Linked DNA regions of Homo sapiens: regions 2 and 3 are each linked to region 1. The links are contacts of gene promoters, found by promoter capture Hi-C in blood cells and fetal thymus (Javierre and others, 2016). All regions are on one chromosome and are shown on one strand. Each heading gives the region's core, a stretch centred on a gene start or on the middle of the fragment in contact. The rest is flanking DNA. Distances are from core to core; before and after follow the strand shown. Region 1 holds the start of MED4-AS1 (MED4 antisense RNA 1). Region 2 overlaps ITM2B (integral membrane protein 2B). Region 3 overlaps RB1 (RB transcriptional corepressor 1).

Evidence for each region. The method cuts DNA at HindIII sites, captures the fragments that hold promoters and counts their contacts. A CHiCAGO score of 5 or more calls a contact.
Region 2: a fragment that was not itself captured here is called in contact with the fragment with the promoter of MED4-AS1 in region 1 in 1 of 17 cell types (total CD8 T cells); the score reaches 5.5 in total CD8 T cells.
Region 3: a contact is called between a fragment that was not itself captured here and the fragment with the promoter of MED4-AS1 in region 1, in 2 of 17 cell types (naive CD8 T cells and naive B cells). The highest score is 5.4, in naive CD8 T cells.

Annotation. Positions count from the first base shown.
Region 1 is chr13:48,074,984-48,078,555 of GRCh38, reverse strand. It overlaps MED4-AS1 (MED4 antisense RNA 1), which reads right to left and starts at 1,419. Exons shown (of 3, transcript NR_046511.1): 1 at 1,205-1,419; 2 at 1,003-1,114. MED4 (mediator complex subunit 4) reads left to right here. Exons shown (of 7, transcript NM_014166.4): 7 at 1,245-2,832. The coding sequence ends at 1,417. The HindIII fragment of the contact is 10,244 bases long and covers 1-3,572 here.
Region 2 is chr13:48,247,819-48,251,320 of GRCh38, reverse strand. All of the region lies in intron 1 of ITM2B (integral membrane protein 2B), which reads right to left. Among named protein-coding and RNA genes, the nearest start is that of ITM2B, 16 kb to the right of the region's middle. The HindIII fragment of the contact is 1,093 bases long and covers 1,410-2,502 here.
Region 3 is chr13:48,310,379-48,313,870 of GRCh38, reverse strand. All of the region lies in intron 2 of RB1 (RB transcriptional corepressor 1), which reads right to left. Among named protein-coding and RNA genes, the nearest start is that of RB1, 8.4 kb to the right of the region's middle. The HindIII fragment of the contact is 747 bases long and covers 1,106-1,852 here.

The DNA of each region.
Region 1 (3,572 bases), core at 170-2,669:
AAGCAGGAAATTACCCACTGGGGTTCCAGGGAGACTTGCTGGGAAGCTGCCCTTTGGGATTCTGGTGAAACCTGCTAGGAAACCACCTTTAGAGGCGCCACCGAAAGTTGCTGTGGTGAACACCACTTAATGTCCTGCACACCAACCAGGCATCACAGCAGTAAAGGAGACAAAACCACCTGATCCAGGAAGTGAAACTTGTTTGCTAGTGGAGTCCCACCTGTGCCCTCTACTGACAAAACTTAATTGTGGCAGCTGGCAAAGGAGAAATGGTTTCAGGGGCCAGAGAGAAGGGTAGATTTGAGGCTAACTGGCATACCTTTCTAGTTAATACCATAACTCTTTCTTTTGACCCTTTAAAAATCTGCCTTCTTTATTTGAGTCTTGAACTATACCTGTTTATGTGCTCTGTCCCTTTGCTTCAGAAATACAGACTTTAAATGTAACTTGGGCCCTTTTTTAAGGTATTTCATATGCATACATTGCTAATCAACCTCTCTTTGATGAGAGTCACTTACAATAGCAGTTCCTCTATCAAGAAATCATTCAAATCTATTATAATACTAAAGTACCTATTACTTGTTTATAATATGTAGAATAATCTACATAACCTAGTATACATAAGTATGTATTATATATGCATATAATAGATACATAGATACAGGAAAAATTTGTAATTACAAATGTCTTACAAAAGAAAAATTATGTCAACTGACTAAATAGTTTCTTACAGAGTAGTATGATTTTTTTAAAAAAGTCCCCAGTTGCTAAAATATCAACTTTTCCTTGATAAATTTGATTTTTATTAATTTGGCTAAATGTGTATTTTTTTCCTAGTCTTAAAAAAATTGGCACAATAGCTTATGCCTGTAATCCCAACACTTTGGGAGGCTGAGGTAGCAGGATAGCTTGAGCCCAGGAGTTGGAGACCAGCCTGGTTAACATAGTGAGACCTCATCTCTACAAAAACTTTAAAAAGTACTCAAGCATGGTGGCACATACCTGTAACCCAGTTACTCAGGAGGCTGAGGCAGGAGGATTGCTTGAGCCTAGGTCAGGGCTTCAGTGATGTATTCGTGCCACTGCACTCAAGCCTGGGTGACAGAATGAGACCCTGTGTCAAAAAAAGAAGAGAAAAAAGTAAAATTAAAAAAAATACTTCAAATTGTTGCATAAAGGGAAAAGTAAGAACTAGATTAATTACAGATAGAGCTGTTCTTATCTATGCTTCTTTTTTTCTCCAGATGTCCTTGCTCCACAGTATCCATGGCAGTCAAATGACATGTCGATGAATATGTTACCACCAAATCATAGTAGTGACTTTTTGTTGGAACCTCCTGGGCATAATAAAGAAAATGAAGATGATGTAGAGATTATGTCAACGGACTCCTCAAGCAGTAGTAGTGAGTCTGATTGAAAAACCTTAAAAGACAATATACAGAATTGAATACTGTAGAATTCTGTTTCTTTAACAGTAGCAGGGAAATGTAAACTACAGGTGACAAAAAATACCCAGGTAAACACTGGCTTTGGTAGAATTGTGCAGTCATTAAAAGTCAAAATTTTTTGACTTTCTTTTTAAAGCCAAAGACCATAGTTTTAGTTTTAAGCCACTAGGTAGATATTTAGGGGAATAGTCAAAATTTACTGTTGAAAAAGCAGTTGCTATGTGCTTTCTTACCCTGTTCTGTTCCAGTTTTGCTGGATTTGTACATAGCCATTCTAGAAATAGAGTTGAGGGAAATTATCCATATACATATCACTAATAGGCTTCTTGGAATTATTTAGAAAAGCATTTTTAAACTGGCAGTGGATGACTGAATAGGCATCATATTTCTTTTTGTGTGTCATTTAAAAGTAACAAAAACTGCCATTTGACAGTAAAGGCTCTTGGCTTCTGTTGGAGGCATGGGAAATTGTCTCAATTTGTACAGTTTGTAATTGTAATTTTTGTAAATAAATTTGTTTGTACATTGTATGCTTTTTTTTTAGTTTAAATATACTGTCAGTGTAGGTAGGAAATTATTTCTGTAAATCCAGTTGCATTTTATAATACTTGAGTGACTAACTGAATTGAAACCTATTACAATTAATAGGGTTCTCAAAGGCCTATTCCTATTAGAAGAAATAATTTTTTTTAATAATTGAAAAAATTTACCACAGCCTTGTCTGATTTTAAGAATAGATTGTGTGAAGATTTAGAATGGAAAGCAACCATTTCTTCCCTTCACCTTCCTCTTCTTACAGTTCCCCAGGAGTCATTTTTAACCACTTTTAATTTCTGTTGGTAACCTCTGTGTTTAGGTAATATGCTTATACAACTATTTCTTGATGTATCAGTTTTAGACAATGTATCTTCTGATTTCAAAGGTAATACAACATTTAATGTGAAACATTTAGTGAATACAGTAAAGGAGAAAATAAAATTGTTAGCATTCTACCCAGAGATAATATCAATTCATATTGTAGTGTAGATTTTTTTAAAGTTCACATACACTTTTTTGTAAAATGAGAATAATGTTTATTTCCTGAGATACTGCTGTATTTTTTAATTGCTAATCTGTATTCTTCAAATGAACTGAGAATTCCATTTTTCCATCATTTTTTCCTTTTGATTATTTTCGATCTCTAGAAAAATTGGAAAATAGGAGATTAATCTTATATTTTCACCATCTAGAATTAAGGACATACAATGTTTGAATGTCTTTCCCTCCAGGGTTATTTTTAGGAATGGACTAACACAATATCTAATTTTAACCTTGCCTTGTCCGTATACTAGGAATATTGATCCATGTGTATACATTCTTGAAAGATTTACTTTAATGGCTAAAATTTTATTGTGGTATGTGCCATAATGTAACTGCCTGTTTTTATCACCAAATCTTTAGGGTAGATTCAAAAGGATTGTGTTTTTCAAATTCTTTAATACTGTATTAGTTTTCAGTTGCTGCCGTAACAAATTACCACAAACTTGGCTCAAAACAACACAAATTTATCTTAGTTTTGTACATCACAAATGTGAAGTGGGTCTCACCTAAAATCAAGGTGTGAGCAGGGCTGCATTCCTTCCTGGAGGCCATAGGGGAGAATCTGTCCCCTGTGTCTTCCAGGTTTTAGAGGCCGCCCTTGGTCCTGCTCCAGGCCCCTGGTTGGTGAGTGTTTCTCATTCTGCATTACTGTGATGCTCTTCTGCCTACCTGTCCCATATTTAAAGGATCCTGTGATCATTCTGAGCCCACTGGATAACCCAGAATAATCTTCTTATTTAAAGTGAGATGATTAGCAACCTTTATTCTGTTTGCAACCTTAATTCTTCCTTGCCATGTAACAAAACAACATTCATAGGTTCTGTAGATTGGGATTTAGACATCTTTGGGGAAAGGGGGTCATTATCCAGCCTATCAGAAATAATCCAAACTTTTCCCCTGAAAATTACACAAATATACATTCTATCAGTACTAAGTCAATATCATAAGTCTATATATTTCTGAATTTTTTTTTTTTTGGAGACGGAGTCTTGCTCTGTCACCCAGCCTGGAGTGCAGTGGCTCTATCTCGGCTCACTGCAAGCT
Region 2 (3,502 bases), core at 707-3,206, 170 kb before region 1:
TTAGTGGAATGTTAAAGGACAAATACTCATTACCTCAGCAGAAGATAGAGTTAAAGGAAATTTTATATATGGCAATGATTTTTCAAAATTTATGGAGCTAAAATGCATGACATTTCCAAGAGCCACATGTGCTTTGGCTGGAGTGCCCAATATGGTGGAGATGAGTATGAGAAATGATGGACAAGAAGCTGGTGCAGGTCACAAAAGACCTTTGTAAACCATGCTAGAGTTTGACTTCTCATGTTCATTCAAAAATCACTTCTCAGCACTATTGAATATTTTTTTAAAATTCAATTTCTTGAGGAATTTCACTTACAAATACTTCACTTATCCACAGGTCAATTTATTCAGCACCTCAACAACGTGAAACGTGGCTTAAGAATCAGGAAATAAACAAGAGTCTTTGGTCAGCCAAATTATAGACCCCAAACCTATGCACCACCATCATGTACTTCATAGAAGAGCTGTTTAATCTTCAAAGTCTATCTAATCTTTGTTCTCTAAATTCCTAATTATCACTTTTCTTTCATGAGAATAATTCACATAAAGATCTTATCTCTCTCTACTAGGCTATAAGATCTTTTAAGTATCCATTCATATTCATTTTGCATTACTGGTAGCTCCAAGCCAAGCTTAGGCTTGGCATTAGCTGGCACTCATATATTTGATGAGTGAATAAAACTTAGATCTTTTTTTTTTTTTTGAGATGGAGTCTCGCTCTGTTGCCCAGGCTGGAGTGCAGTGGCGCGATCTCAGCTCACTGAAAGCTCCACCTCCTGGGTTCACACCATTCTTCTGCCTCTGTCTCCCGAGTAGCTGAGACTACAGGCGCCCGCCACCACACCCGGCTAATTTTTTGTATTTTTAGTAGAGACAGGGTTTCACCGTGTAGCCAGGATGGTCTCAATCTCCTGACCTCGTGATTCACCCGCCTCGGCCTCCCAAAGTGCTCGGATTACAGGCTTGAGCCACCGTACCCGGCCAACTTAGATCTATTTTTTTAAAAAGCCTGGTTATTTAATTTTTTATGATTCATAAAAGTTATACCAGCAGCCAGCGTGATAATAAGGGAAGGGAGAGATGCAACATAATTCATAACGTAAAACAAACTGTGGCTATTTAGCAAGAGCAGTAGCCTAGTTCAGCATTTATTAAGTAAGGCTTGCTATTTGCAATATACTGTGCTAGATCCTGTGGGAAATCAAATGTGATTAAGACATGGCTCCTACTTTGAGCGATTTATAGTCAAGAATTAACATCACGTATGATAGATAAATGATGTTCCATAATACAATCCGAGTCATGGAGAAGGGATTAAAGTATGCTCAAGATTTAAAAGTTTTTAATCTAAGAGATTTATTAAAAGTGTTTTTAGAGTGATTAAATTTTAACACTTCAAAGAGTAAGCTTTACTTAAAGAAAAAGCCACGTGAGATTTAAGAAGAAAAACCCCATGACTATCTCAAAATATACAGAAAATGTATTTGACAAAATTCAACTTCCATTAAAAAAAAATCTTTGCAAACTAGCAAAGGGTGAAATTCTTTAACATCAGTAAGGCTAATAATCAAAAGCCTATAGAAAGCCTCATACTTAATGGTGAAACTTTAATACTTCACCATACCCTTTTAATTGAGGAATACAGGAATGCCCACTAAAATTGACTGTTTCCACTGAACACTGTACTAGAGATCCTACAGCAAGTACACAAACAATAAAAAGATTAGGTATTAGAAAAAAGAAAAAACTGTTATTATTTGTAAATAATCTGTCTATGTAGAAAATCTAAGAAAGTCAAATTATTTAAACTAATTAGAGGGTGGCAAGATTTTTAAAGATCAATAATCAAAAATCAACTGAGTCAAAAATTTAGTCATGAATATTTACAGCATCATTATTTATATACTAGCCCCAAACTAGAAACAACCCAAATATCCATCAACTGATGAATAAATTGTGGTATATTCATACCATGAAATAGATAGCAATAAAAAGGAACAAAATAACACACACCAGCGGGACTGAATCTCAAAAACATGCTAAGTGAAAGAAGTTTAGCACAAAAGATTACTCACTATATGATCACATCTTTATCAAATTCTAGAAAAGGCAAAACCATAATGACAAAAGCAGCTTACTGGCTGGGGAAGGGGAGACTGACTACAAACAGGCATGAGGAAACTAATTACTTGGGTGATGGAAATCTTTCGTATCTTGATTGTTGGGGTGGATATATGACTTTATACAATTACCATAAATTCAATCAAATTGTACACATAAAATGCAGGAGTTTTATTCCATGTAAATTATATTTTGATATGGAGGGTGGGGAAGAAATCAACTGAGTTCCTGTCTACCAGGCAATAAAAGAATGTCTAACACCAAGTGCTAGAAAAAGTGTGTAACAAAGGGAACTTGGGAACTTCCACTCAATTGACAGAAATTTAGGTCCAACTGCTTTGGAGAACAATTTGGCAGTATCTAATAAACATACATCAAGCTTGTCCAACCCGTGGCCCATGGCCGTGTGTGGCCCAGGACAGATTTGAATGTGGCCCAACAGAAATTCACAAACTTTCTTAAACCATTATGACTTTTTTTGTGATTTTTTTTCCCAGCTCATCAACTATTGTTAGTGTATTTTATGTGTGGCTCAAGACAATTCTTCTTCCAATGTGGCCCAGGAAAGCCAAAAGATTGGACACCTCTGACATACATTTATCTTATGACCTAGCAATTCCATTCCTAGGTATAAATCCTGGATAAACTTTTGAATATGTAAGGAAATATGTCCAAGAATATACACTACATTGTCAGCAACAAAAAAAAAATTCGAAATAAATTATTATAGATTCATATAATACTGCTAAAAAGATTCAACTAGTGACCAGGCCCAGTGGCTCGTGCCTATACTCTCAGCACTTTGGGAGGCAGAGGCAGGAGGACTGCTCAAGCCCAGGAGTTCCAGACCAGCCTGGGCAACATAGCAAGATCCTATCTCTTTTAAAAAATAAAAATTAAAAAAAAAAAGTACTAGCACTGCTGATTTTTAGATAAGCCTAAGAAACATAATTGCTGACCCCCCCAAAAAAGGCACGTTGCACAACATATAACACCACATATTTAAGTATTATGTAAGTATGTGATATTTAAGACTTTCAAAACATATAAAATATACTTCAGGTTCTCTGTATTTTGTGTGCCTGAAATATTTCATAATTTTAAAAAGAAAAAAACCACTAACAAGTAAGAGCTTCTTCACTGGGGTATATAACTTTACCTGGCCTAATTTAAAACAAGTCACCGAGACGTTTCCTCCCTTCTACTGCAATAAAACTGGTGCACCTTGCATCGCGCTTAAAAGGTAACAGAACTCCCACAGGTGCTGTACAATTATCATCTAATTAATCTTCCTAAACCTCAAGTTTTTTAGCCCAGTTTATAAAAGAAGACACTGCAGCACACGCTGGCCTATAACCACCTTGCAACAGTAGATATAGAA
Region 3 (3,492 bases), core at 230-2,729, 240 kb before region 1:
AGGCTGAGGCAGGAGAATGGCATGAACCCGGGAGGCGGAGCTTGCAGGAAGCCGAGATTGTGCCACCGCACTCCAGCCTGGGCGACAGAGCGAGACTCCGTCTCAAAAAAAAAAAAAAAAAAAAAGAATAAACATACAGAGCAATGGAATAGAACTGAGACTCCAGAAATAAACCCTGGTTTTTATAGTCAACTGATTTTCATCAAGGGCACCAAAACAATTCAATGAAGAAAGAATAGTCTTTTCCATAAGTGGTGCAGAGACAACTGGATATCCACATTCAAAAGACTGGAGTTAGACCTCTTCCTCACATCATACACAAAAATTAACTCAAAAAAAAAAAACAAAAAAAAACCCAAGACTGACAAGAACTAAAAACCATATGACTTTTAGAAGAAAGCACAGAATAAGTCTTCATGACCTTGGGTTAGTCAAGGCCTTCTTAGATACAACATCAAAAGCCCAAGCAACCAAAAAAAAAACCACCACCAAAAAAAAAATAGAAAACTGGACTTCATCAAAATTAAAATCCTACGCTGCAAATGACATCATCAAGAAAGTGAAAAGGCAACTCACAGAATGGGGGGAAAAGTCTGCAAATAATATATCTTATAAGAGATATGCATAAAGGAGAAGCTTTAACTGCATCTTAAAAACAGAATTTAGGCTAAAAGAAAAAAGAAGGGTATTCCAAAAAAAGGGGAGATCGCATGAATATGAATACTATCATATTCATATGGAAGATATTCATATGGAAGATTCATATGGAAGGGAAGAGAACACAGGCATTGGGGGCCAACAATGGAAATAAAAAATAAGACTGGAAGGAAGGTTAAAGCACAGACCATGAAGAACTACAAATACTGAGAAAGTTTGGACTTTACTTCTTCATAATGGTGGTGGGAGCATGGGAGGGTGTTACAATGGAGGCTACTGAGAGTGGGTTGTAACAATGAAAAATAAATTTTAAAGCAAAAGGGGCAAACTGTACACCAGTCTTTTCTAAAAATCAGGCACAGGATGGATTGGATGGAGAAAAGAAGAGACTAGTCAGAAAGAGGCACTAAAACATGCATAAAAAATGCTCAAGTCAATGACATAAGCTTCCACCTTCTGAAATTAAAAAAATAAAAAGGAAATTAAAACCAAAGCAAACAGTAAAAACCAAGCACTGCTGGTAAAAGAAATGAAGGGACAGACGTGAGAGGCAATGCAAAAAGATAACTTGAGACTGAACGGATAGGTTTAAAATAGAAGGAGTCTGGTATAGTTTTAATTAGTCCTATGGACAGACACTGAATACCAAGGTAAACCTGTAAAGAAAGCAAATGGTAGTGTAAAATTCCACTTCTTCCTAGAATGCAGAAAGCTGCAAAGAGTATTGCTCCCACCCTCACAACAAGAACAAGCCAGATAAGGAACAAAAACAACCTTTCTTGAAATCAACATATCCTTTCCTTATATTTCAGATTATTTAATTTCCCCTAAAAAAAGGAACCTCCAATGAGAGAAAAGATATAAATAATGGCTCATCTGTGGCACAACATGAAAGGAAGAGACACAGGGAACCCTAACAAAAGTAAAAAGTATTCAGCTAAAAATTTTTAATGAATGCTGATTACAAAACAACAAAAATCCATTTAAATATAAAAAAGAAATAGGTTAAAATCAAAATGAAGGTAAACGATACACATTGTAAAGAGTGATCACAAGAAAAGTGGAATCGATATGTGGACACTGCAGAACAAAAGATATAAATTTGGATAAAAAAGCACATTACATAATGATAAAGGTACCAATTTACCTAAAAGGCATAAAAATTCTAAACTTGTATGTACCCAAGGATAAAGCTTTAAAATACACTAATAAAGGCCAGGCACAGTGGCTCACGCCTGTAATGCCAGCACTTTGGGAGGCCGAGGGCAGATCATGAGGTCAGGAGTTCGAGACCAGCCTGACTAACACGGTGAAACCCCGTCTCTACTAAAAATACAAAAATTAGCCGGGTGTGGTGGCGCATGCCTATAATCCCAGCTACTCGGGAGGCTGAGACAGGAGAATCGCTTGGACCCGGGAGGCAGAGGTTGCAGTGAGCCGAGATCGTGCCACGCACTCCAGCCTGGGTGACAGAGCAAGACTCCATCTCAAAATAAAATAAAATAAAAAATACATTAATAAAAAACAGAATTTAAAAGGACCATTCTAATTATAGTTGGAGGCTTCATATTTCTCCCTCAATAATTAGTAAAACACATAGAAAGAAAATCAGTAAGGATATGGATGATCTACTGTACCTTTTCTATGTATAGATATACAAATACTTACCATTGTGTTACAATTGCCTACAATGTTCAGTACAGTAACATGCTGTACACATTTGCAGACTAGGAGCAACATGCTATATACCACACAGCATAGGTGTGTCATAGGCTATACCATCCAGGTTTGTGTAAGTACATGCTATGATGTTCACACAACGATGAAATCACCTAATGATGCATTTCTCAGATGTGTTCCCATTGTTAAGCAACACATGACTGTATTTATTTAAAATATAACCACCATATCACAAAAATAAGTAAGTGGTTCTATCAAGAGCAATATATCCCAAAGCTCTTTGAGATATGTATATCATACATTTCATATACATATATATGTATGTATAACAAAAAGCCTATGAGGTTCACATTCAGGCATTATTTCTGCCTTACAGGTGAGCAAACTGAGACTCACAGAATTAACCAATTTGCCTAAAATCATATAGCTACAATATAATTACAACCAAAGTTTCCTGCCTTGAGGTCCAAGGCATTTTCCATTCTACCATACTACCAATCAAGATGCAGAAAGTAAACCAAAATTCTAACAGCTGATTCACCTTAAGTCACAATATGAACATCACCTTAGCCAATTTCTTAATGGAAAGTCCTATTCATATGCTATAATCAGCATAAATACAATCTAACCTTATGAACAAAGCTAATCTTTATTATTACACTTTACTAAATATTTATTTTAAAAAAAGAAAACACTTTTCTAGACAAAATACCACAAACTTTTCCTTTAAAGGGATTAATATATGCTTTCATGTATGCATAAACAACTTTTCTGATGCTAAAGTACTTAAAAATAAGAATTTTAACAAACATTACTACATCAAAATCACTACAATGCATTTAAAATTGTAACCATTTTAACTGATATCCTAAGTTCTCCTAAAAAAAAATACATCAATGATAAAATTTTCTGGGGTATTTCTTAAGTAAAATTATTCTGTTTGCAAGACCTAATATACATACTCATTGACTCTAATAAGAGCTTTATATGCATTAATTTATTTAATCTGCACATAACTCCAAGATCCAGAAATTACTGTCAGTCCCTTTTACAGGTAAGAAAACTAAGGCTTGAAAATTGTAGATAACATGTTCAAGATAATGGAGTTCGGACATGGTATATCTGTTTGACTCTTAATCCTTGCTCTTAACCCAT